Linked DNA regions of Homo sapiens: regions 2, 3 and 4 are each linked to region 1. The links are contacts of gene promoters, found by promoter capture Hi-C in human tissues and cell types (Jung and others, 2019). All regions are on one chromosome and are shown on one strand. Each heading gives the region's core, a stretch centred on a gene start or on the middle of the fragment in contact. The rest is flanking DNA. Distances are from core to core; before and after follow the strand shown.

The links. Contacts are between HindIII fragments. The study calls those that stand out against the background at their distance.
Region 2: a contact is called between a fragment that was not itself captured here and the fragment with the promoter of KRTAP5-1 in region 1, in 2 of the 25 tissues and cell types used here (lymphoblastoid cells and spleen).
Region 3: a contact is called between a fragment that was not itself captured here and the fragment with the promoter of KRTAP5-1 in region 1, in 1 of the 25 tissues and cell types used here (lymphoblastoid cells).
Region 4: the fragment with the promoter of LSP1 here is called in contact with the fragment with the promoter of KRTAP5-1 in region 1 in 1 of the 25 tissues and cell types used here (mesenchymal stem cells).

Annotation. Positions count from the first base shown.
Region 1 is chr11:1,580,911-1,586,961 of GRCh38, forward strand. It overlaps KRTAP5-1 (keratin associated protein 5-1), which reads right to left and starts at 4,373. Exons shown (of 1, transcript NM_001005922.1): 1 at 3,432-4,373. The coding sequence starts at 4,339. The coding sequence ends at 3,503. The region is part of intron 1 of KRTAP5-AS1 (KRTAP5-1/KRTAP5-2 antisense RNA 1); the gene reads left to right. The HindIII fragment of the contact is 15,838 bases long and covers 1-6,051 here.
Region 2 is chr11:1,315,189-1,321,465 of GRCh38, forward strand. No RefSeq gene overlaps it. Among named protein-coding and RNA genes, the nearest start is that of TOLLIP-DT, 8.6 kb to the left of the region's middle. The HindIII fragment of the contact is 8,078 bases long and covers 100-6,277 here.
Region 3 is chr11:1,223,599-1,228,932 of GRCh38, forward strand. MUC5B (mucin 5B, oligomeric mucus/gel-forming) reads left to right here. Exons shown (of 49, transcript NM_002458.3): 2 at 2,083-2,139; 3 at 2,607-2,678; 4 at 3,017-3,278; 5 at 3,433-3,547; 6 at 3,710-3,800; 7 at 4,077-4,183; 8 at 4,966-5,167. Among named protein-coding and RNA genes, the nearest start is that of MUC5B, 3.2 kb to the left of the region's middle. RefSeq lists enhancers at 1-6, 7-702, 703-1,400. The HindIII fragment of the contact is 5,077 bases long and covers 1,080-5,334 here.
Region 4 is chr11:1,851,834-1,858,516 of GRCh38, forward strand. LSP1 (lymphocyte specific protein 1) reads left to right here and starts at 1,251. Exons shown (of 11, transcript NM_002339.3): 1 at 1,251-1,364. The coding sequence starts at 1,312. RefSeq lists enhancers at 1-31, 1,023-1,342, 3,193-3,622. The HindIII fragment of the contact is 16,836 bases long and covers 1-6,683 here.

The DNA of each region.
Region 1 (6,051 bases), core at 3,123-5,622:
TGAGCCACTGTGCCTGGCCCAATCATAGTTATTTTAAAGCCCTTGTTTCCTAACTCCAATATGTGGCTTATCTGTAATCTGCTTCTTCTGTTAGCTTTCCGCATGATTATTGATCACTGTTTCCTGCTGTGTCCTGTATCTCGTGCTTTCTGTCAGAGGTATGCCTCAAAGGACCGTGGGGGTCCATATCTAGGGACCGTGGGGGGTCCATATGTCGGGACCGTGGGGGTGTCTATATCTCGGGACCGTGGGGGTCCATATCTAAGGACCGTGGGGGTCCATATCTTGGGACCATGGGGGGTCTATATGTCAGGACCGTGGGGGTCTATATCTAAGGACCGTGGGGTTCTGTATCTCAGGACCGTGGGGGTCCATATCTAGGGACCGTGGGGGTCCATATCTAGGGACCGTGGGGGGTCCATATGTCGGGACCGTGGGGGTGTCTATATCTCGGGACCGTGGGGGTCCATATCTAAGGACTGTGGGGGTCCATATCTTGGGACCATGGGGGGTCTATATGTCAGGACCGTGGGGGTCTATATCTAAGGACCGTGGGGTTCTGTATCTCAGGACCGTGGGGGTCTGTATCTAGGGACCGTGGGGATCTGTATCTAGGGACCGTGCGGATCTGTATCTAGGGACTGTGGGAGTCTATATCTAAGGACCGTGGGGTCTATATCTAGGGACCGTGGGGGTCCATATCTCAGGACCGTGGGGATCTGTATCTCAGGACCGTGGGGGTCTGTATCTCGGGACCGTGGGAGTCTATATCTAGGGACTGTGGGAGTCTATATCTAAGGACCGTGGCGTCCATATCTAGGGACCATGGGGGTCCATATGTCGGGACCGTGGGGGGTCTATATCTCGGGACCGTGGGGGTCCATATCTAAGGACCATATGTCGGGACCGTGGGGTTCTGTATCTCAGGACCGTGGGGGTCTGTATCTAGGGACCGTAGGGATCTGTGTCTAGGGACCGTGGGGGTCTATATCTAGGGACTGTGGGAGTCTATATCTAAGGACTGTGGCGGTCTGTATCTCGGGACCGTGGGGGTCTATATCTCAGGACCGTGGGGCTCCATATCTCAGGACCATGGGGGTCTGTATCTAAGGACCGTGGAGGTCTATATCTCGGGACCGTGGGGGTCTCCATCTAAGGACTGTGGGGGTCTAGCTGCTCTCTTCCAACAGTGAGCACGTGGCCTCCCTCTCTAGTGCAGACAGGGAGAGGAGCTGAACATTTCGTCTACCCGCTCAGTTAGGGATTGGGCCACTTCAGTCAATCGTCCCTCTGTGTGGCTTTCCTGGAGTTTTGGTTAAGAGCCTGGCCAGTCCGTGTCTTCTTATCCCTGACAGGCTGTCAGAGAGTCACTTCTTTCCCTGAGGTACAGGCTTAGCTCTTTAGTTGTCTGCTCAGGCAGCTTCAAAATTTGGAAAATGTCTTAAGGGCCAGATTAACCTGTGCCTGGGGCAGGACCCCTTCCTCTAGAAAAGCTCTGTGTACTAAGCTCCACAAGGCTATGCGAGACTTCAGCGCACCTGCGGAGGCCTCAGGCCTCACTTCTTAGCCTCCCCAGAAATTTGCAAATGTCCCAGTTTTCTGCTCCAGCCCCTGTGGTTGCCAAGAGCCCTGCTGGGTATTTCTCCCAGTAGAATTCCTCTTCCCCAGTGGGACCGAGGCTCAGCTCATACCCAGCACTGGTTAATTCCTTAAAGGGAGAGAAGCCGACATTCAGCTCATCTTGGAAGGGCTCTCTCTGAATGTTTTCATCTGGTTCTTGTTGCTTCTACAGTTCTCCAATGTCTTTTTTATAGATACATTTTTCCGGTATTTCAAAATTGTGGGCCGGATGCAGTGGCTGACGCCTATAATCCCAGCACTTTGGGAGGGTGAGGCAGGTAGATCACTTGAGGTCAGGAGTTTGAGACCAGCCTGGCCAACATGGTGAAACCCCATCTCTACTAAAAATACAAACAAAACAAAATTAGCTGGGCATGGTGGCTCATGCCTGTAGTCCCAGAAACTCAGGAGGCTGAGGCAGGAGAATAGCTTGAACCCAGGAGGCAGAGGTTGCAGTGAGTGGAGATCACACTACTGCACTCCAGCCTGGGCAACAGAGTGAGACTCCATCTCAGAAAAAAAAAATTGTGGTAAGATACATACGGTAGGATTTCCTGAAGTTATTTATTTATTTATTTATTTATTTATTTATTTATTTATTTTACCATCTGAGTTCTGTAATTAATGTGGCCTTCTCTGGTTGCTGCAATGGGATTGCTGACCTTCCATATACATCCCCTCTGGAATGTCATATTTGCATTCTTCTGGCTTTTTTTGTTTGTTTTTTGTTTTTTTTGAGACGGAATCTTGCTCTGTAGCCCAGGCTGGAGTGCAGTGGCGCGATCTCGGCTCACTGCAGCCTCCGCCTCCCGGGTTCACACCATTCTCCTGCCTCAGTCTCCTGAGTAGCTGGGACTACAGGCGCCTGCCACCATGCCCGGCTAAATTTTTGTATTTTTAGTAGAGAGGGGGGTTTCACCGTGTTAGCCAGGATGGTCTCAATCTCCTGACCTGGTGATCCGCCCCCCTCGGCCTCCCAAAGTGCTGGGATTACAGGCATGAGCCACCGCACCTGGCCGCCGGCATCTTTAATTCAGACTGCCAGCTTCCAGAACCCTGAGAAATACACTTCTGTTGTACATGCCAGTCCATGGTGTTCTGTTACATCAGCCCAAAGAGAATAAGACCGCGTGGTAACAGGCCATGATGACCCCCTAGTGATTGCTTTTGCCTGATCAAGGCAAGGCACCCCCGCCCTGAGCCAGATGCTGAGAGGGTGTGGTAGAGGCTGCACGGCAAGGGGCTGAGCCAGGTGGCTGCTGGTGCTCCTGCCTCTGACCGCCACCATGTATCCAGGATCCCTGCTGGCCAGGGCGCCCACCTGCCTGCTCCGGTTTGGTTCAGGGCCGGTGTGTGTGTGTGTGTGTGTGTGTGTGTGTGTGTGTGTGGTTCCCAGGGGACCCAGTGTAGCCACAGATGCCCCCCACCTGCCTCGAGAGGGAAATAAACATAAATATACCAAGACAGCTATGGGGTGCTGGGGTGAGCGGTTTATTGGATGTTTAAAGGACAGAGATCTGAACTCCTAGTGACTGCAGAGTGAGCAAGCACCCTGGGCTGTCCTGCAGGGCTGTCCGTGCTGGATGTGGTGCCAGCAGGCAGGGCTTGCGGATAGGCATTTGCTGCAGGTGGCTGGGGCGGTGGGGGGCTGGTCTCCAGATGCCTGGAAGGGAGGCCTTGAAAGTCATTCTTCTTGGATGCATGGGCCCATGGCATTTCTTGGTAGAAGGTCAAAGAGAAGTGTTCATGCTTGGCAAGGCAGGAGGGTGGGAGATAGGGTAGTGGGTGGGGAAGGAGAGTCTGGCTCACTGGGTGCCAGGAAAAGGAGGTAAAGGCTGGGCAGGAATGCCTGGCCATGGTAAGAGTCCTGCAAAGCCAGAAATCAGATCTTGCACTGGCAGCACACGGGGACACAGCAACTGGACTGGGAGCAGCAGGGCTTGCAGCAGCTGGATTGGCAACAGGATGACCCACAGCCTGAGGAACAGCAGCAGGGCTTACAGCAACTGCACTGGGAGCAGGATGACCCGCAGCCTCCCTTAGACCCCGCGCAAGAGCCACAACTGGAACAGGAACAGCAACACACGGGCACACCGCAGCCGGAGCCACAGCCCCCACAGCCGGAGCCACAACCCCCCTTGGATCCCCCACAAGAACCGCAGCCCCCCTTGCAGCCTCCACAGGAGCCACAGCCCCCCTTGGAGCCCCCACAAGAACCACAGGCCCCCTTGGAGCACCCACAGGAGCCACAGCCCCCTTTGCCACAGCTGGAGCAGGAACAAGCTGGCACACAGCAGCACATGGGCTTGCAGCAGCAGACAGGCACACAGCAGCTGGAGCCACATCCCCCACAGCCGGAACCACAGCCACCCTTGGATCCCCCACAAGAGCCACAGCCCCCCTTGGAGCCCCCACAGGAGCCACAACCCCCCTTGGATCCCCCACAAGAGCCACAGCCCCCCTTGCAGCCTCCACAGGAGCCACAGCCCCCCTTGGAGCCCCCAGAAGAGCCACAGCCCCCTTTGCCACAGCTGGAGCAGGAACAGGTTGGCACACGGCAGCACACGGGCTTGCAGCAGCAGACGGGCACACAGCAGCTGGAGCCAGAACCTCCACAGCCAGAGCCACAGCCCCCACAGCCGGAGCCACAGCCCCCACAGCCGGAGCCACAGCCCCCACAGCTGGAGCCACAGCCTCCGGAGCAGCCGCAACAGCCCATGGTTCTGGTGGATTGAGGGTGGAGCAGGTAGAGGAGCAGGTGAGAGGGAGGTGCAGGTGTGGAGCTCCCTGAGCCTGGACCCTTTATATCCCTGCCCAGGGTCATGTGTGAGGCTGGGCACACATTTCCTGGTTCCTGTTTGTGCCATTTTTAGGGCCCCTTTTTCTTGTTTCCTCTAGAAATCCGCCCCTTGGTGTATGGGCTGCTCAGTGGGCTGCTGCTCTCTTGCTGAATCTGTGTCCAGACTTAATGGAGGCCCCCAAGGGTCTAGCCTCTCCCTGTTGACTCCAGAGTCACACTGGATTTACAAAAGCATCTATTTTAGGCTGGGCATGGTGGCTCACACCTGTAATCTCAGCACTTTGGGAGGCCTAGGCAGGTGGATCACTTGAGGTGAGGGGTTGGAGACCAGCCTGGCCAAAATGGTGAAATCTCGTGTCTACTAAAAACACAAAAATTAACTGGGTGTGGTGGCTCACATCTGTAATCCCAGCACTTTGGGAGGCCGAGGCAGGTGGATCATTTGAGGTCAGGAGTTGGAGACCAGCCTGCCCAACATGGCAAAACCCCATCTCTACTAAAAATACAAAAATTAGCCAGGCATGGTGGTGCATGCTTGTAACTCCAGCTACTTGGGAGGCTGAGGCAGGAGAATGGCTTGAACCCAGAGGTGAAGGTTGCAGTGAGCAGAGATCACACCACTGCACTCTAGTGTGGGCAACAGAGCGGGACTCTGTCTCAAAAAAAAAAAAAAAGTGATCTATTTTAGTTGAACGATGGTATAAAGAGTAATATATTTAAAAAATGTAAAAAAAAACCCTACTCAACTTGGGAAAAAATGGCATAAATAAATGAAGTCTCTGTTCCTCCATCTCTCCATATTGTTTCTGTCCCACCCTAATAATTTCTTGAATTTGGAATTCACCACTCTCATGAAGGTCCTCACACTCCTACTTAATATGTATGTTCCTTTAAAAATGTTTTGTGGCCAGGCGCGGTGGCTCACACCTGTAATTTCAGCACTTTGGGAGGCTGAGGTGGGCGGATCATTTGAGTCCAGGAGTTTGAGACCAGCCTCACTAACATGGTGAAACCTCGTCTTTACTAAAAATACAAAAATTAACCAGGTATGGTGGCATGTGCCTGTAATCCCAGCTATTCGGGAGGCTGAGGCAGGAGAATCGCTTGAACCTGGGAGGCAGTGGTTGCAGTGAGCTGAAATCACGCCATTGCACTCCAGCCTGGGCAACAGAGTGAGACTCTATCTCAAAAAAAAAAAAAAAAAAAGAAAAGAAAAAAGAAAAAAAAATTTTACATGCTGAAAACTTTATGTAATGGGTATTACACTGTATTTCTCTTTCTGTAAATTGCTTTTGAAAAAAATAGGTGTTAGGCTAAAGAGATTTTCTCTAGGGATACATATGGTTTTAATTTATTTGTTTTCTCTGATTTCTAAATATACATTGACTTATCCATTTACTTGTTGATGGACCTTTTGTTTCCTTTTTGTTGCTATTTCAAGCAAGCTGCAACTTTCTTGCCCAAAACCCCTCCTGCAGGTGTGGGTGCCTGAAAGTCAGGAGGTTCTTGTTACCAAGCTGTCTTCCCAAGGGATCCCCCCAGCCAGCTGCTGTCCAACCAGCATTGCCAGAGAGCTCCTGTTTCCTGGCACCCCCACCAAAACTTGCAACTGTCAACTTACACCCTTCATG
Region 2 (6,277 bases), core at 2,889-5,388, 270 kb before region 1:
CGGCTAATTTTTTTGCATTTTTAGTAGAGACAGGGTTTCACCATGGTCTCGATCTCTGTACCTCGTCATCTGCCTGCCTTGGCCTCCCTAAGTGCTGGGATTACAGGCATCAGCCACTGCGCCCGGCCTGGGAGACTTTTTATTATAGATTCAATCCCATTACTCATTATTGGTCTGTTCCAGGTTTCTGTTTCTTCCTGATTCAATCTTGGTAAGTTGTATGTGCCTAGGAATTTATCCATTTTCTTTAGGTTTTCCAGTTCATTATTGTGTATAGTTGTTCGTAATAGTTTCTGATGATTTTTTGTCTTCTGTGGTATCAGATGTAATGGTCCCCTTTCTAATTTCTGATTATGCTTATTTGAGTCTCTTTTCTTTTTTCTTTGTTAGTCTAGCAAGAGGTCTATTGATTTTCAATATAACCAACATTTCAAAATAACCAACTTTTTTTTTTTTCAAAATAACCAACATTTTGTTTTGTTGATCCTTTGCTCTTTTTACTCTCTTATTTTGTTTAGTTCTGCTCTGATCTTTATTATTTCTTTCCTCTACTAATTTTGGATTTGGATTGTTCTTGCTTTTCTAATTCCTTGAGGTACATCATTTGATGATTTATTTAAAATCTTTCTATTTTTTGAGGTAAGCATTTACTGCTATGAACTTCCCTCTTAGCTCTGCTTTTGCTGTATAGTTTTTTCTATGTTGTGCTTTTATTTTCATTTATTTCCAGTAAGTTTTTTGGTTTACTCCTAAATGCCTTCCTGATCCAGTGGTTGTTCAGGAGCACATTGTTTTTTGTTTTTGTTTTTGTTTTTTTTCTTTTTTTGAGACGGAGTCTCACTCTGTCGCCCAGGCTGGAGTGCAGTGACATGGTCTTGGCTCACTGCAACCTCCACCTCCCGGGTTCAAGCAATTCTCTTGCCTCAGCCTCCCAAGTACCTGGGATTACAGGCGCCCACCACCATGCCCGGCTAATATTTGTATTTTTGTAGAACATGGTTTCACCATGTTGGCCAGGCTGGTCTTAAACTCCTGACCTCAGGTGATCCCCCCGCCTTGGCTTCCCAAAATGCTGGATTACAGGCATGAGCCACTGCACCCTGCAGGAGCACATTGTTTAATTTCCATGTATTTGTACAGTTTCCAAAGTTCTCGTTATTGATTTCTAGTTTTTATTCTATTGTAGTCTGAGAAGGTTCTTGATATTATTTTGATTTTTAAAAACTTGTTGAGGCTTGTTTTGTGTTCTGACATAGGGTTGAACCTGGAGAATGTTCTGTGTAGCTGATGAGAAGAATGTGTATTCTGTAGCTGCTGCACGGAATGTGCTGTAAACATCTGTCAGGTCCATTTGGTCTAGTGTGTAATTTACATTTGGTCCAATGTTTCTTTGTTAATTTTCTGTCTAGATGATCTGTCTAATGCTGAGAGTGGGCTATTGACGCTCCTATTATTGTATTGGAGTCTACGTCTCCCTTTAGATTAAATGGTGTTGATTTTATATATCTGGGTGCTCTGGTGTTGGGTGCATATTTGTGTAGAATTGCTAGTCCTTTTGCTGAGTTGATCCCTTTATCATTATATAATAACCTTCTTTGTCTCTCTCTCTGTTTTGTTTTGTTTTTTTTGACACAGTCTCACTCTGTTGCCCAGGCTGGAGTACAGTGGCGCAATCTCGGCTCACTGCAACCTCCATCTCCCAGGTTCAAGCGATTCTCCTGCCTCAGCCCCCCAAGTAGCTGGGACTACAGGCACATGCTGCCACGCCCAGCTAACTTTTGTGTTTTTAGTAGAGACAGAGTTTCACCATGTTGGCCAAGCTGGTCTCAAACTCCTGACCTCAGGTGATCCATCCGCCTCCTCCCAAAGTGCTGGGATTACAGGCGTGAGCCCCTGCACCCAGCCACCTTCTTTGTCTCTTTATACTGTTTTTTACTTAGATTCTTATTCTTTGTTCTGGACAAAAAGCCCTGTGTTCCCAGCATAGGAGAAATACAAGGTGCCATTCGCCACCATATTTTCATGGGTGGGTCAACTAAGATATATTGCCACCTACAGCAAGAATTGAAGCATTAGCTACCAACTGTGACTTGTTAGGGAAAACAATAACCAGAAACAGAATATACAACTGCTCTATTCTCCATTTCTGTATCTGTGATGAGGCCTGTGGTGATACTCATAGCTTCCTTAGTCCACCATCCATTTCACGTTCTCCTTTTCTTTGCTAAGTGCCTCAGCCCTATCCGCCCTGAAGGTGGTGTAGATAAGAAGTTCCTGTCAAGTCTGCACTGAGGCTTTCCCAATTTCCATCAGAGAAAGAGGTGAAAAGGCTCTCTTTTAGCGAGGCCTTGGTGTTGCTATGAGCTGGCCTGGCACTCCCAGTTAGGGCGCCGTGTTCTGTTAAACATATCGACTTTGCTGGAGAGTCGCGTCATACAAAGCCAGTCTGTGGTTGTGACGCCTCAGTACAAAAACACACCACTCTCTAATCACGTCTGAATACTGTCCAAGACAAATGACCACATCACCTACCCTGGCCAGTCTGACAGCTGCTGCTTTACTAACTACAACTTTAGCCTCCGCCTACTCTTCCCTCCTTCTAGAGAAAAATTACTAAGAAGCCTAATCAGCTAGGTGCAGTGGCTCACACCTGTGATCCCAGCACTTTGGGAGGCCGAGGTGGGCAGATCACCTGAGGTCGGGAGTTCGTGACCAGCCTGGCCGACATGGTGAAACCCAGTCTCTACTAAAAATACAAAAAATTAGCCGGGCGTGGTGGTAGGTGCCTGTAATCCCAGCTACTCCGGAGGCTGAGGCAGGAGAATTGCTTGAACCCAGGAGGCGGAGGTTGCAGTGAGCTGAGATGGCACGATTGCACTCCAGCCTGGGTAAGGACAGCAAAACTCCTTCACAGAAAAAAAAAAAAAAAAAAGGAAAAACAAAAAGAAGCCTACTCATGGAACTACCCCTGCTTCCTGACTGCATCAAACCCAGAACAAAACCCCACTTCCTTAAACCCTCCCCAGAATACCTCCACAAGCCCCAATGCCACTGTAAGTCCTTTCCGGTGCCCTCTTACGAAGTTAACCTGTAGTTCTCCAGGGTGTGTGTGTGCTCTCCTTCACTGCAACGAGTGATAAACCCAGCTTGCTCCATTACAGGTGTGTTCCCAGTGGTCTTTCGCTGGAGGCATTGGCACATCCGAAGCTTGAATTGTCCTGTTCCTTTGTGAACGCTTTCTGGAGCCGTCAGAGGAAGCCAGCCCATTCCACAGTCTTTGTAATCCCCATTTTTGCTGAAGCAACTGCGTGTCTCAGCCATGTGATTCCCCATCTATTTTCCCTCCACGTGCATGGTGCCCCATGCTGCTGTTGATGAGAACGTGAGGAACTGAGGTGCTACTGTGTGATGTGAGCTCCCAGTGTTCTGTTTCCCCCAGCAAGGATTTATCCCCGTGTTCATCAAATGTATGAGCAATCCAGTCCTGGAATCCCATTCTGAGAGTCTGTTTCTTGGGACCAATTCCGATACCAATGACTGTATCAGTCAAGGGCCCATTATGAAGCCGATGGCATACTCAGAAGGATAACTAATCGGGTCCATCATGTAAGGGGCTTGAAAGTTGATGCTCTGGGCCGGGCACGGTGGCTCATGCCTGTAATCCTAGCACTTTGGGAGGCCAAGGCGGGTGGATCACGAGGTCAGGAGATCAAGACCAACCTGGCTAACACGGTGAAACCCTGTTTCTACTAAAATACAAAAAAATTAGCCAGGCATGGTGGCAGGCACCTGTAGTCCCAGCTACTCAGGAGGCTGAGGCAGGAGAATGGTGTGAACCCAGGAGGCGGAGCTTGCAGTGAGCCAAGATTGCACCATTGCCCTCCACCCTGGGTGACAGAGCGAGACTCTGTCTCAAAAAAAAAAAAAAGTTGATGCTCTGACCTAACAACAAGCAAACAGCTGAAAAAAAAAAAAACCTGAAAAATCAACAGCTTTTCTTAGAACCATCACAGAAGTGAGCTCTCTGGGCAAACTGCTGCCCCGAAAATTAGAGAGATAAACAGGTGGATACAGACAATCACAACTTACCAAAGCGGAGATCCACCTCTGCAAGAACCAGCACTGGAGGAGGAAAACCTGAACTGTAGTTCGTAAATTTCTGGAGGCTCAGTGTCCACAGGTCTGAGAGGGAAAACTTTCAGGAGGAGGAGGGCCCAGGCAGTCATCAGCCCCCACAACAGTCATCAGCCCCCCCATAGTCATCAGGACCCCCCCACCCTGCTCTTTCAGGAGGATCTAGGCAGTCATCAGCCCCCCACAGTCATCAGCCCCCCTCACCCTGCTCTTTCAGGAGGACCGAGTCAGTCTTCAGCACCCCACAGTCATGAGGCGCCCCCCAATTTCTGCTTTTGTGAGTTTTACCTCCAGGAATTCTACCAGATTCTCGCAGTGAAGAGCAGAGAAAAATCTCCCGGGGTTTACAGCAGGCAGAGAGGAAAAGGAACCATTTTGAAATAGGTTAAAACATTCTGTTCTTCTTAAAAAGGCCTCACCTCAGCAGAAACTAGTTTACCAGAGCCTACCCTACTGGGGTTTTATCAGAACCTCACTGACCTGTGGGAAGGAAAATGCCCAGCTCCAGCTCCCTCTAGCTTTCCATGTTGGAGGAGGGAACTCCTCAACTCCAGCTCCCCTTATGGACACTGTGCCGCCTAAAGGGGTGAAAAACAAAAAACAAACCTGAGAAGCACTTATGAGGTTCACAACCCAGCAGGACAGACTCACCGGGAGACCTAATCGCAGGCCTGTAAAATGCTTTCCTTCTCTTCACACCTCACCACTATGTTACTAAAGGCCTATTTACTGTAGTTCCCTTGACTCAGTGAATCATGTCTGCCTTTCAACAAAGAATTACAAGGCGTACTAAAAGTCAAAAACAAAACAAAGAAACAAAAATGCCATTTGCAGAGATGGAATAAGCACCAGAACTGAGCTGGACCCTGGTGTGATAGCAATGTTGGAATTATCAGATCATGAATCTAAAACAACCATGATTAACATGCTAAGGGCCCTAGTGGATAAAGTAGACAACGTGCAAGAACAGATGGAAAATGAAGGCAGAGAGATGAAAATTCTAAGAAAGAATAAAAAAGAAATGCTAAAGATAAGAATAGTGGCTATAAAAATTAAAATTCCCTTTGATGAGCTTATTAGTAGGCTGGACATGGCTGAGGAAAGAATCTCTGAACTTGAGGCTACATTAATAAAGCCTGAAAAAAACAGGACAGAATATCCAAGAACTGTGGGACAACTACAGAGGTGTAAATATGTGTAATGGGAATGGGAATACCGGCAGGAGAAGAAAGAAAGGAACAGGGCCGGGTGCAGCGGCTCACGCCTGTAATCCCAGAACTTTGGGAGGCCGAGGCGGGTGGATCATGAGGTCAGGAGATCGAGACCATCCTGGCTAACACGGTGAAACACTGTCTCTACTAAAAATACAAAAAAAACCTAGCCGGGCGTGGTGGCGGGCGCCTGTAGTCCCAGCTACTCAGGAGGCTGAAGCAGGAGAATGGCGTGAACCCAGGAGGCAGGGCTTGCAGTGAGCTGAGATCACACCACTGCACTCCAGCCTGGGCAACAGAGTGAGACTCCGTCTCAAAAAAAATAAAATAAAATAAAAATACAAAAATTAGCCAGGCTTGGTGGTGGACACCTGTAATCCCAGCTACTCAGGAGACTGAGGCAGGAGAATCACTTGAACCTGGGAGGTGGAGGTTGCAGTGAGCCAAGATCACACCATTGCACTCCAGCCTAGGCAACAAGATCAAGACTCCATCTCAAAAAAAAAAAAAAAAAAAAAGAACAGAAGCAACATTTGAGGTAATTATGCCTGAGAATTTCTCCTAACTAATTGTCACACACCAAACAACAGATTCAGGAGGATCAGAGAACACCAAGAAGGATAAACAAAAAACAAAAACAATACAAAATAACTATACCTAGTTATATCATATGCAACCTACAGAAAGTGAAAGATCCCTGAGGGAAGCTAGAGTAATACACCTATAGAGGGGCAAAGATAATGATTCCATCTGACTTCTCCTTGGAAACCATGCAAGTAAGAGGAAAGTAGAGTGAAATATTTAAAGTGTTGAAAGGAAAATAAAACTGAACCAAGCTAGAATTCTGTATCCTGTGAAAATCCTTCACAAGTAATGCAGAAACACAGACTTTCTCAGGCAAACAAAAATCGAGAGAATTTGTTGCCAGTACA
Region 3 (5,334 bases), core at 2,368-4,867, 360 kb before region 1:
GACCGGCTCTACCCTTCACGACCTCCCTGGGGATCACAGCTGGCAGGGCAGGTGAGGGTACCACCCTCAAGGGTTGCACAGCCAGCCGCAAGAGCCCCGGCCTCAACCCACGCTCGACTCCCACGGCCCATCTGTGGGCATCTCATGCCGCACGGGCTGCCTGGCTCTCAGCCGAGCGTTTTCCCTCGTCTGCTGTCTCTTGGCCAGAGCCGCAGCATTAATACTTACTGTCAATAGAGAAAGATGCAGCCCCAGGGGCCACCGGGAGACACCCAGCCGGGCTGGCCATGAGGCTGCTGCAGCCCCTCCCTGCCCCGCCCTCCACCCCCTCCCAAGCTTGGGGTCTGGGCTGGGCAGGTGAGGCTCCCTGGGGTCTCTCTCCATCTGTGGAAGGGAGGCTGGGTGGTCAGCAGGGCTGGAGGCAGGGGGCTTCCCCCAGTGGCTCCCAGCCTGGGCCCGGGGGGAGCTGCGTCTGGCTGCAAGGTTTGGGGGCTGGTTTGACCAGAATAGCCACCTCCTTGCATCTGATTCTTCCGGGCCATGCAGCCTTGGCTCCCCTCACCTGAGCAGGCAGGGCCTAGGGACTCTCAGCCCACCCGTCCTCCTGTCCTCCACGCACGTCCAAGTTGGGGAGATCAAGCCCTTGGCAGGGACTGTGCTTTAGTCACCAGATGCACGTCCTGTGGCCGGGGAAGGCAGCCCTGCACAGAGCAGCTTCATGTTAGGGGACACACCCCAAAGTGATGGGGTGGCTGGTGGTGGGCACTTCTCTGGCTACAAGATGGAGGCCCAGGTGGTCCAGCCCAAGGAGGGCACTGCACGGAGCAGATAACCAAGGGCAGTCAGCCTGGGCAGGGGAGGGGCTGCCTGGGGGGGAGGGGTTGCCTGGGTTGGGGAGGGGCTGTCTGGGGCAGGGGAGGAGCTGCCTGGGGCGGGGGAGGGGCTGTAGGGCCAGGGAGGGGCTGCCTGGGGCTGGGGAGGGGCTGCTGGGGTGGGGAGGGGCTGCCTGCGGCGGGAGCCGGGGCGTGGGAGTGGCTGGTTGGGCTGGCACACAGGGGCAGGGCTGTGAGCTGTGGGTCGGGGTGGAGGACTCAGGGATCGGCTGGCTTTCTGGGAAAGGCAGTCAACCTGGATCTCTGGAGGCGGCCCCTGTGGTGGTTCCCAGATGTCAGCAGGACCTGGCTGGAAAAGCCAGGCAGGGCCAGGCCAGAGTGCGAACCACAGGGCCGGCCCCTCGCTGAGCCCTGACCATGCTGTGGGGGCTGGGGCCTCACCTCCCACCTCCCCACAGAGAGTCTCAGATCAGGATCCAGGGAGGAGCTCTGGGGTCCTGTGAAGGGGGCGCCCCAACCCAAACTGGGCAGACAATGGCCGGGGGTCCTCAGAGTCCTGTGGGTTGGAGCTGCCTCCTCCCAGCCTCCATGGGGTTGGTGGGTGAGGCCTTGCCCGGAGGCGGTGGTCAGCCTGGGGGACCTTGGGCGGCCATCCCAGTATCAACGGCCACACAGCTTGCGCGGCCCAGAGTCCTGCCCCCAGCCTGCCCCACTCGCCCTGACTTAGGATCTAGTTCGAAACTGGTTCTGTGTTTAGGTTTCTGCTAAGTCACGCCTGGAAGGCTCCAAGTGTGTCCTCCTAACAAAGCTGGTCTTTGTCCTTCTCCAAGGGATGTGTGGGATGGGGCGAAATCCCCCCTTGGGGCGGCCAACGCCTTTTCCTGATTCCATTTTCTCCCCCATCCCTTGAGAAGGAGGCACCATCCCCGCCTGTCAGTCGGGGACAGGGCAGGCCGTGCTGGGGGCAGCTCAGGGCTCCCTGCTGGAAGCTTCCATCCCGCAGGCTTTCCATAGCATTGAGCAGGAGCGGAGGCATCTGCGGCTGACGGTTGGGGTGGCCTGAGCGGCTGGGGAGGAGTCCCGGCCTTGGCCACAGTGTGTCGTGAGGGTGAACCTGCAGGGCATGGAGACCGCCACCAAGGACCCCACATGCGGCTGCCGCACCAGGGATGTGGCCAGGTCCGTGGTTGGGTTCGTGGCTGGCAGCCACATCTAGTTCCTCACTGACTCCCATTCCCTCTTCCCACAGAGACCCAGGGCCCTGTGGAGCCGAGCTGGGAGAATGCAGGGCACACCATGGATGGCGGTATGTGGCCAGGTTCGGGGGTGGGGGGTTCCTGACCAGGCTGGAGGGGCTGGAATTTGGGCTGGGGCAGGCAGACGCCTCTCCAAGCAGCCATGCGTCTGACAGAGACCCTCCCTGGGTCCCCTGCCCAGGACAATACCCAGCACCCGAGGCGGAGCTTGGTGCTCCAAAGAAGAGGAAAGTGCAGAGCAGAGAGACATGCACACAGAAGCACACGCGTGGACAGGCACATGCGTGCCCACACTTACACTGGCACACACATGTGTGCACACACAGGCCAAAACACAAGGGCAGCAGTGTTTGTGGGGCAGACAGGGCCAAGGGTAAAGGGGCTGCCTTGGCCCCAGCCCATCAGTTTTGGGCTCCCCTTCAACTCTGGTGGCTGGCGAGGAGGGTGGGCCCCGGGGAGGGTGTCTCTGCTTCCCCTTCCTGGCCACGTTCCTGGGGTGACCAGCCTTCACCCACAGGTGCCCCGACGTCCTCGCCCACCCGGCGCGTGAGCTTTGTTCCACCCGTCACTGTCTTCCCCAGCCTGAGCCGTAAGCAGATGCTGCCCCTGCCAGCCGGGAAGGGGGTGTTTGCCAGTCCCAAAGGTGGGGGCCCAGATCTAGGGGTGCAGCTGCCACCAGGTGGGGCCGTTGGGCCAGACCCAGAGTCCTCCGTGTGGGCGGTCTCCTGGTCACTGGCCACCCTGGGGGATGGGGACGGGTCAGGGGTCTTGGAGCAAAACAGACGCAGTCCAGGGTGAGCCAGGCAGGGCACAGCCAGCAGCCGACCATGGGCTTTTCCATTCCAAAAACCAGGGTGCCTCGGCCCAGGGGAGGCTACCCCGTGGGGGGCTGGCATGGGGATGGGCCTCATCCCGCGCTCCCCACAGCCCTGAACCCGGCGCACAATGGGCGGGTGTGCAGCACCTGGGGTGACTTCCACTACAAGACCTTCGACGGCGACGTCTTCCGCTTCCCTGGCCTTTGCAACTACGTGTTCTCTGAGCACTGCCGCGCCGCCTACGAGGACTTCAACGTCCAGCTACGCCGAGGCCTAGTGGGCTCCAGGCCTGTGGTCACCCGTGTTGTCATCAAGGCCCAGGGGCTGGTGCTGGAGGCGTCCAACGGCTCCGTCCTCATCAATGGGCAGCGGTGAGCCGGCCACCCTGGGGAGGGGCGAGGGCCGGGCCACACAGTGTGACCTCCCCACACGGCCATGTCTGACCTGGGCCAGGGCTGGGGGGGGGTTGGGTGGGCAGGCAGCCAGGAGAGCGGGGCCCAGGGAGAGACCCCGCTGTCTGCGCAGGGAGGAGCTGCCTTACAGCCGCACTGGCCTCCTGGTGGAGCAGAGCGGGGACTACATCAAGGTCAGCATCCGGCTGGTGCTGACATTCCTGTGGAACGGAGAGGACAGTGCCCTGGTGAGGAAGCCCCCTCGCCCCTTGCCCCTTCAGGCCTGGCCACAAAACCCCCACCGGGGGTCGAGGGATGCCTCCCTGGGCTTGGGGTCACGGGGCTTGGGGCATGTTGCCAGTGTGGGGATCAGAGGTCCTGAGGCTGGAGCTGCCCCTCCCCACTCTCAGCTGGAGCTGGATCCCAAATACGCCAACCAGACCTGTGGCCTGTGTGGGGACTTCAACGGCCTCCCGGCCTTCAACGAGTTCTATGCCCACAGTGAGTGCCACCTGGGTGAGGGGGCGGTGACCAATTATGTCGGCCAACGAAGAGCCACAGTCCCGGGGAGGCCGGGAGGGGGCGGAGTGGGGACCGGGCACCAGGCAGGGAGGGGCCACGAGGACTGTGCCCTACATGGTGGGAGGAGTGCCCCTCGGGGGTGTTGGGCCCTAGGCAGGAGTGGGAGTCCTCTGGCCTGGGCTCAGGAAGTGGGAGCCCATATCTTGTCCCCAGGAGCCCCTCAGAGCCACCACACCCCTGCTTTCTTCCCGGCAGACGCCAGGCTGACCCCGCTCCAGTTTGGGAACCTGCAGAAGTTGGATGGGCCCACGGAGCAGTGCCCGGACCCGCTGCCCTTGCCGGCCGGCAACTGCACGGACGAGGTGAGTCCCCCGCCACCCCCAGCTCCTGGGCAGGGACGGCCTCCAGGTCCAGGGGGAGCTGGGCCGAGGTCTGAGGAATGTTCCCAGCTGGTGGAGAGATGGTGCCATTGGAGGGAGGCCGGGCAGCCACCCTCTGTGTGCTCAGTTCCACGGTACACACTGTCCGAGTGTGGTGACGTGCGTGTTCATCAGGCCACGCGTGTGCCCATCTGTGTGAGCAAACACAGGCCCATGCTGCACAGGCTGGGCTGAGGGTGGGCACTCGGGAAGCCCGGAGCCAGCCCTTCCCACCAGCAGGTGGACTCAGAAGGGGCCTGGAGGCTCCAGGATCCCCAAACCAGCAGGATCTCTGAGCCTTAAGTTGTGCTGTGAATGACAGCATGAGCCCCCCTGTGAGCTGGGCCCCGCAGCCGGCAGCCCTGGGCCTGGGGACGGAGGACACTCAGCACTGGACTGCCCTGAACCTGCCGGGCTGCCCAGAGAGGCGGGGCCTCCACCTCCCCTCCTTGGCTCCGCCTCCTGGGGTGGGGGTCTGCACCTTTCTTGGGCGCTTACTCCACGGGCAGGCACATCCGGAGTAGGGGATCCCCGGTCACGGGTCACTCCCCAAGGGCCAAGCAGAGCTCTGCATGGCCACAGTGGGTGGAAGGGGTGGGGCTGGGTACAAGGAACCCCGACAGGGAGAGGGCTTCCCGGCCTGGCCTGCCATGGGTCCTATTCCAGCACCGTGGCAGCCCCCATGGATGGCAGGGGTGCCCAGCCTGGCCCACTGTGCTCCCCAGGAGGGCATCTGCCACCGCACCCTGCTGGGGCCGGCCTTTGCGGAGTGCCACGCACTGGTGGACAGCACTGCGTACCTGGCCGCCTGCGCCCAGGACCTGTGCCGCTGCCCCACCTGCCCGTGTGCCACCTTTGTGGAATACTCACGCCAGTGCGCCCACGCGGGGGGCCAGCCGCGGAACTGGAGGTGCCCTGAGCTCTGCCGTGAGTGCTCCCAGGGCCTTCGCCAGGGATTGTGCCAGAGAGAAGGGGCAGGGGGAGCGCCTTGGGGGCCACTGGGGGTGGGGAGGCCTGGGGGACAGGGGTGGAGGGCAGAGGACCCACCCCAGGCATAGTGGGCAGAGGCCACCCCAGGACCCCAGGAGGGGGTG
Region 4 (6,683 bases), core at 1-2,500, 270 kb after region 1:
TGATCTGGTTTTAGCCCTGCCCATCGTCTGGGCCACGGATCCCTCTGGTGCCTCCACTCGTGGGGCTCTGAAAGCCTCTGCTGGTCTTTGTGGTGTGTTTGGTGGGTGGGGGGCTCGCTGAGTCCCAAGGAGGCGGCCTCCGGTTCGGCCCCACCCTGATGGGTCAACACTCTGGGCCCAGGGCCCTCCCAACCCCTGGCCTCTCTCCAGCCCCTCTTTGCCTTGGGACCCCCTGTAAGTCCTTGCTGGTTGGATTTCTCAGGCCCAGCCGCTGGCCAGGGCTCCCTTCTCCCATTCTCCTGCGCTGAGGTTTCCAGCAGGGAAGCCTTCGCCACCTCTGTGGCTGCCCTACTCTGGCCCAGCTTAAGTCCTCCCCTGCCTCAGCTTTTGGGGTCTGGCTCCTGCAGTCATGCATCCCTCCTCCTGACCCTGGAGCCACTGCGTGGTCACTCCCAGAAGCTGGGGACAGTGAGGGCTGGAAACAGCCTCCATCCCTCCCCTCGGGCTGGCCTATGCCTCTTGGGAGGGTCCCTGAGGCACTGCCTTTAGAGCCTGGGGACACGAACCACTCGGTGGTCAACTCCAGCGACCAGAGCACGGAGAGCAAGGGGCAGCGGGGGGACGAGGCGGATGCCCGACAGCTCGGCATCAGCAAGGCAGTCCAAGACAGAACAAGGCACCCGACGGGTAGAACGCAGGGGCATCCCGGGCACAGCCCCCAAAGCCACCTGGGACCCACAGCTGTTTGATGTGCTCAAGGCTATGACCCCAGGCTTCGAGAAAAGACTCCACCAAGTTCCATGAGCACCTGTAGGAGAGCCGGCCTCTGGGTAGATTTCACCCAAAGAAGCTAAAACGCTCACGTGGTGCTTATGGGATCACAGACGTGTTTGTCCCTGATGCTGCAGGAGAACTGGCCACTCACAGGTGGACCTGATGGCCAGAGCTACTAGCGGGGACCAGGGGTAACATGGGTCCCCCTCCCCGAGCCATGAAGAGCTGCCTGCGGCCATCTTGGCCCTCGCACCCCGTCTCTGTCACCCCAGGCCCCTGTAACTTGCTTAACGCTTCCTGAGGGGTGGTTTGGGTTTTTTTTTTTTTCTTCCTCTCCTCTTGTAGCAACAGATTAAAAAACAACACCCTGACCCAAGCCGAGACAGGTTCCAAACCTCAACCTGCAGCCGGAAGGGGGAAGTGAAACTCGGCTGGGGGTGGGGGCTCAGAAGCCGCCCCAGAAAGCACTGAAAGCCACAGCACGTACACCCACTCCAGGGATCTGCCAGCACCCTGTGGGGCCCAGACTACAGGCTGATGGCGGAGGCTTCGAGTGACCCGGGTGCCGAGGAGCGGGAAGAGTTGCTGGGGTAAGGGTCTGCGGCGACGCCCGGCGCCCTGTGCCGTGTCCACGGGTGCATAGTCCTTGAGCTGCATGGAGGGTGGAGAACTGAGGTGCCTGATGGGGAATCTGGGGCCCCCAATGGGAGAACTTGGATGTCCGATGGGGAAACTGGGGACCCACAGACAGGTGGCAGGAAGTCTTGCTGGGACCCCCCTCTCACAACAAGGGTGGAGGTCTCTTCCGCCTGCCTCTGTGCCCTGGACTCACTGGGGGAGGCGCGTGGGATCCTAAGCCCATGGTGGATGCCTGAAGCGAGGAGACCCCAAGACGTGTCCTGGACTGCCAGGGAGGAGCTGGGGACTGTGGGCCCTGTTAGCTTGGGAAGAGGCAAGGTGGGGGCTGGGGAGCAGCTGTTCTGGGATGGGTGGAACTGGCCCGGGCCTGGCCACCTGCCCACAGGACTATCTGAGAGGGGCTATCCTGCCTTGAGGGTCTGGAGGCCGCCAGGCTTGGGGCCCAGCAGGCCTCAGGGCAGGGCACCCAAAGCTGCCCTTGACCTGCGGTAAAGGACAAGGCCAAGGATTCTGGCAGGTGCCTGTGCTGGGTGCCAGGCACCGTGTGTTGGTTGGAGTGGGGACATGAGGGGGCATGGCAGAGGTTGTGTGTAGGACTGCCAGAGCTGGGCAGAAAAACCCCGCTGCCAAAGGCCTCCTAGCGGGCAGCTGTACTCTGTGGTACCAATGGGCATCCAGCCCTGTGCTGGGGTGGGTGGAGAGGGCTAGCGGCTTAGTAACTGGGCTCCCTGGCAGAGGGGAGCTGCCGGCCAGCAGGCATCCAGGCATCACAGCTGAGCCTCGCCAGGGGAACCCGAGTTGCCCCCGGTGCAGGTCCCAGAAGAGATGGGAGGGCTCAGGGCGTGCGGTGCAGGGACAGGTAGGGCTTTGAGGGGCAGAGGGGCGACGTGCTAATGGTCAGGGGATGGGGATCCGGTGCTGGGGATAGAGGCCGGCCTAGGAGCAGGTCAGCGGGGGCTGTGGCCTGGTGTGCGGAAGGGAAGGCGCTGGGGCCCAGGTTGCAGAAAGAGTGTGATGCCCGCAGCCACACAGGACGGACCTGAGAGGAGGCCCAGGGTGACGCTCACATACCCCAAAACTGCAGCCAGGGCTGCTACCAGTCTCTGCCTTGGTGCTGACAGCAGAGGGTCCCGGTCTACCCGACCCGGGGCGGTGCAGGGACCACCTCCCGGCCTTCACACAAAGCTCCTGTGCTGTTGGTGGCTGCAGTCACTGTCCTGTGTCTGTGTCCTTGGTGGCCGTCACATTGCTGTGGGTCTGGTATGTGTGAGGGGTCTGCATCTCTGACTTCTTGCTGCCAAATCCCACTTGGGTACAGGTGCGGGGGGCCACTGAAGGGACCCCGAGTGCCGTGAGTGGAGTGGAGGCTAAGCAGAGGCCGGGGCTGGCTGAGGGCTGGGTCGGGACGTCCGTGCCTGTCCCCAGGGAGAGGTGGGAGGATGCCCTGCCCAGGCCGTGTGCAGGGAGACAGGCTTCTGGGTGCACAACAGCTGTGTCCCAGCTGCAAAACGGGCCCTCCTGTCAGCACCACCCCCAGCCCTGGACTAGGTGCTGCTCCTGGTCACCTCATGCCCATAGAAGGGCAGGACATGAGCCTCTGGGCTGGGGCACCCCCGCCTTCCTCCTTGGCCTCATCCTTGGCCACCCCCTCCCAGCTGTCTCAAATGCCCTGGATCCCCCGGGCCAGGAGCGGGGAGGGGGGGTTGGAGCGGGCATGGCCAAGGCACAGATGATCCTGGGGCATCTTGGTGCAGATCCTGGGAGGCCAGGGCTGCACCTGTGCCGGGGCTGTCAGGCGCTCCAGCTGGAGAGCGGCGGTTCTCCTGGGCTCTGCAAAGCCTGGACCCCCTCCTTGGACATCCCCTGCCCCCGCGAATTGCATGGGGTGCGCAGCCAAGCCTGACCTTTCAGAATGAAACTGAGAGCCCCAGTGGGGTAGGCTTCTCATTTCACAAGGTGACTAAGGGAACCGGGGAGTTTCCTGTCTAGGATGGGACAGAAGTCCCCTGCACCCAGGCAGGGATGTATGGCCTGGGAAGCCCCCACACGGGAGTCCCCAGGAAGGCCCAGGCTGGGCAGGCTCAGCTGGGGCTGGAGCAGTGGACAAGACAGCCCCCCGTGCATGTCACAGAGTGCCAGGTACGCCAGCCTGTGACGGTCTCAGGACATGCCCTCAACACTAGGTCCAGGGCAGGCCAAGCCCCTCCAGCTGGACAAGTGGGTCCAGCCCCTCAGACTGTCGCATGATGTGGCCCCTCCCCTCAGACTGCCCGGGACGGGGCCAGATTCCTCAGAACCACCCCTCCATGATGTGGTCTCTCAGATGCCCCCAGGACAGGACTGTCCTCTCCCACGAGGCCTCAGGCCAAAGAAGGTCCCCTGACCCTGGGCGGGGTCCAGGCTCCGCTTCGGCTACCAGCCAGGCTGGACTGCGGTTCCTCCACTCGGGGGCACTCCTGTCTCGCCCCGCTGTCCAGCAGACAGTCACTAGCTTGTCCTTGTCCCTTGGGGGCAGGGACGAGGATTTCACAGAGCTGCCTTGTGGCTCTGGGGGGACTCTCTGGTGACGCTGGGGGATGCCTGCCCTCTATAGCCCCCAAGAGCAAGGCTCTCCCCACACTGAGGAACTATCTGGCCTTGGAGGCCTTGAGGCGATGAGGACGGGGCGTCCTGGTCCACAGCTGGGGAGGGTCAGGTTGCCCTCTCAGACCTTGGGTTCGACATATCCAGATGTTGGAGCCCAGCTCTGCAGGGGTGTACCCTCCCTGGGGTCACACTGCATTTTTGGCTGCAGTGCCTGTCCTTGGCCCAGCTGCCCGGGGGTGCCCACCCGCCCAGGCGTGCCCACCCCATGTCCACACCTAGAAGGCAAGTCTGCCTGCCGCCACCCTGTCCCACAGACACCCTGGCTGCCCTCTCAGTCTGCCCCTGTGTAGCCCAGGCCCCCATCAGGATGACCCTACCCCCAGTCTGTTCCCCATGAGCGACCAGGCCGTGTCTCCCACGGAAAGAACCATTCACCAGCTACAGGCAAACTCCATGCCCCTGGGTGGCCATGCCAGGCCCTCCTGGCCTGGTTGAACTCACTTCCCATCCCACCAGCTTTCCCAGCTCTTCCCAGTTTTGGAAGGTGTCAGAGCCCTGGCACATGCCCCTCCTAGCATCACCCAACCGCCCTGCTCCTCTGCAGACCTTCAAAGGCCTGCCCAGCCCGCGGTGGGAGGCCGCTGCCCAGGGCTCTGGCAGCACCTGCCATGGACAGGGCCAGTCCTGGAGCCCCGCCTGGCCCATCGGAGCCTCCCTCGCTTCTCTGTGTGCTGAGCTGAGTTGGGAAGGGCAGGGATGACCTGAGGGGCTGCTCTGGCAGGGTTCCTTCTGGCCATCTGTCCCTGGAGACCCTCAGAGCTCCAGATTCTGAAGGAGGAAGGGGCTGGAGGCCCCCGGCAGCCCCCTGGAAGTCTTCATCTGAGCAGCAGGAGCCCATGGGATGGAACCCCCCAGGCAGCCAGGCCCTTGGGCAGCCCTCCCGCCCACCTGCCCTCCGAGCCAAGGCCAGGCACCACCTGGAGGATGTGCAATGCTCCACGCTGGGGCAGGTGGCCCTGAGAGCCCCCAGCGGTGCCCACGACTGCTCAGGAAAGAGGGCAGAGCTGGGGACAGTTGGGGAAGCCACCTCAGCCCCAGCCCTAGCCCCACAGGGGCTGCTGAGGGAGGTTAGGATTGAGGGCTAAGCCCTGGGGCTCCCTCCCTACACCTTCCTGTGGTCAAGACCTGATGTCTGGACCCAGGATCCCTGGGGAGGTCCCCTTCCTCCTGCCCTGGGTAAGGGGTCTGAGGCATCTGGAAGTTTCCCAGGGAAGCAGAAGGATGTCTTCTTCCTCGTGGGCTGGCAGGCGCTGCTGTCCACCGACACCCAGCTGGGCTGGTCGCACAAGTGGGAGCATCACAGGCCCCACCCCCGCTGATTCTGGAAGCCAGAATCCTTTCTTCCTGCGCCCCCTTCCTGGTTCCCTCGTGTCTCCTAAAACAATCCTGGAGCCACACAAGGGCAGTGCCAGGAGGGTCTGGGGTCCAGCTGGGACAGGCCCTGGCCGGTGACACCCTGGGGTGGCAGGATGGTGGGCCTCTGCTCCGCTACCCTACGGGCCAGCCTGTCTCCACCTCAGTTCCCTGAGAACGTGCCAGAGGGATGGGTGAGCCCTAGAGAAGAGGAGGGTGTTGGCAGTGGAAAGGGCCCAGTGGTCTCCCGCTCTGAGTCCTCAGCCTGGTGAGGGGTGGGGGCGTGAGCTCTGCCTTGCAGTCCCAGCCCCTGAGATCCCACTGCTGGGGCGGCGGGAGGGGGATGGGCTGCAAGGCCCCAGGGCTGGCCTTGCTTCGGCTGCTATAGGCCCTCGGAGTGCTTTCTGGATGAGTAAGCCGCACCCCTCTGAAGCCTCAGTTTCCCCATCTGCACACTCAGAATGTAGCCACTCAGACCAAGCGTTCACTCCATGCCAGTCTTTGCCAAGCTATTTATTTATTTATTTGAGACAGAGTCTCGCTCTGTTGCCCAGACTGTAGTGCAGTGACACAATCTCGGCTCACTGGAACCTCCGCCCTCCAGGTTCAAGAGATTCTCCCACCTCAGCCTCCTGAGTAGCTGGGATTACAGGCACCTGCCACTGCCCCCGGCTAATTTTTGTATTTTTAGTAGAGAAGAGGCTTTCACCATGTTGGCCAGGCTGGTCTTGAACTCCTGACCTCAGGTGATCCACCCGCCCCAGCCTCCCAAAGTCCTGGGATTACAAGCATGAACCACCGCGCCCTGCCTTTGCCAAGCTTTTTAAACCAAGGCTCTTGTTTCATCCCCCGGAGCTGTGAGGCAGGTCCCTGGAGCCTCCCATTTCACAGACGGAAACCGAGGCTCACAGGGGCCAAGTGCATTGTCCAAGGGCTGCTCCCTGCCTGGGGAGGGGCCTGAGTCCTTGCCCCTGTGGGGTTCGGGTGCTGAGGGCCCACAAGACCTGCGGGCACCAGGAGGGAGCTGGGCTGGGCTGCCCTTCCCGGGGTCTCTCTGACCCCACACCACACACCAGCCACTCTGGACTCAAAGGCTCCCAAGAGCACCAGAGCACTGCTCATGGCCCAAGCTCAGCAAGCACTTAAAGGGACCGTCCCGAAAAGCGGAACTGGGACCGGGCGCTGCAGGACCAGCAAGGTCCTCCACTTCCCTCCAGCCCAGCCCCGCCCAAATCCCAGCCCTCAGCATCTTTTTGGGGGCCACTAAAGAC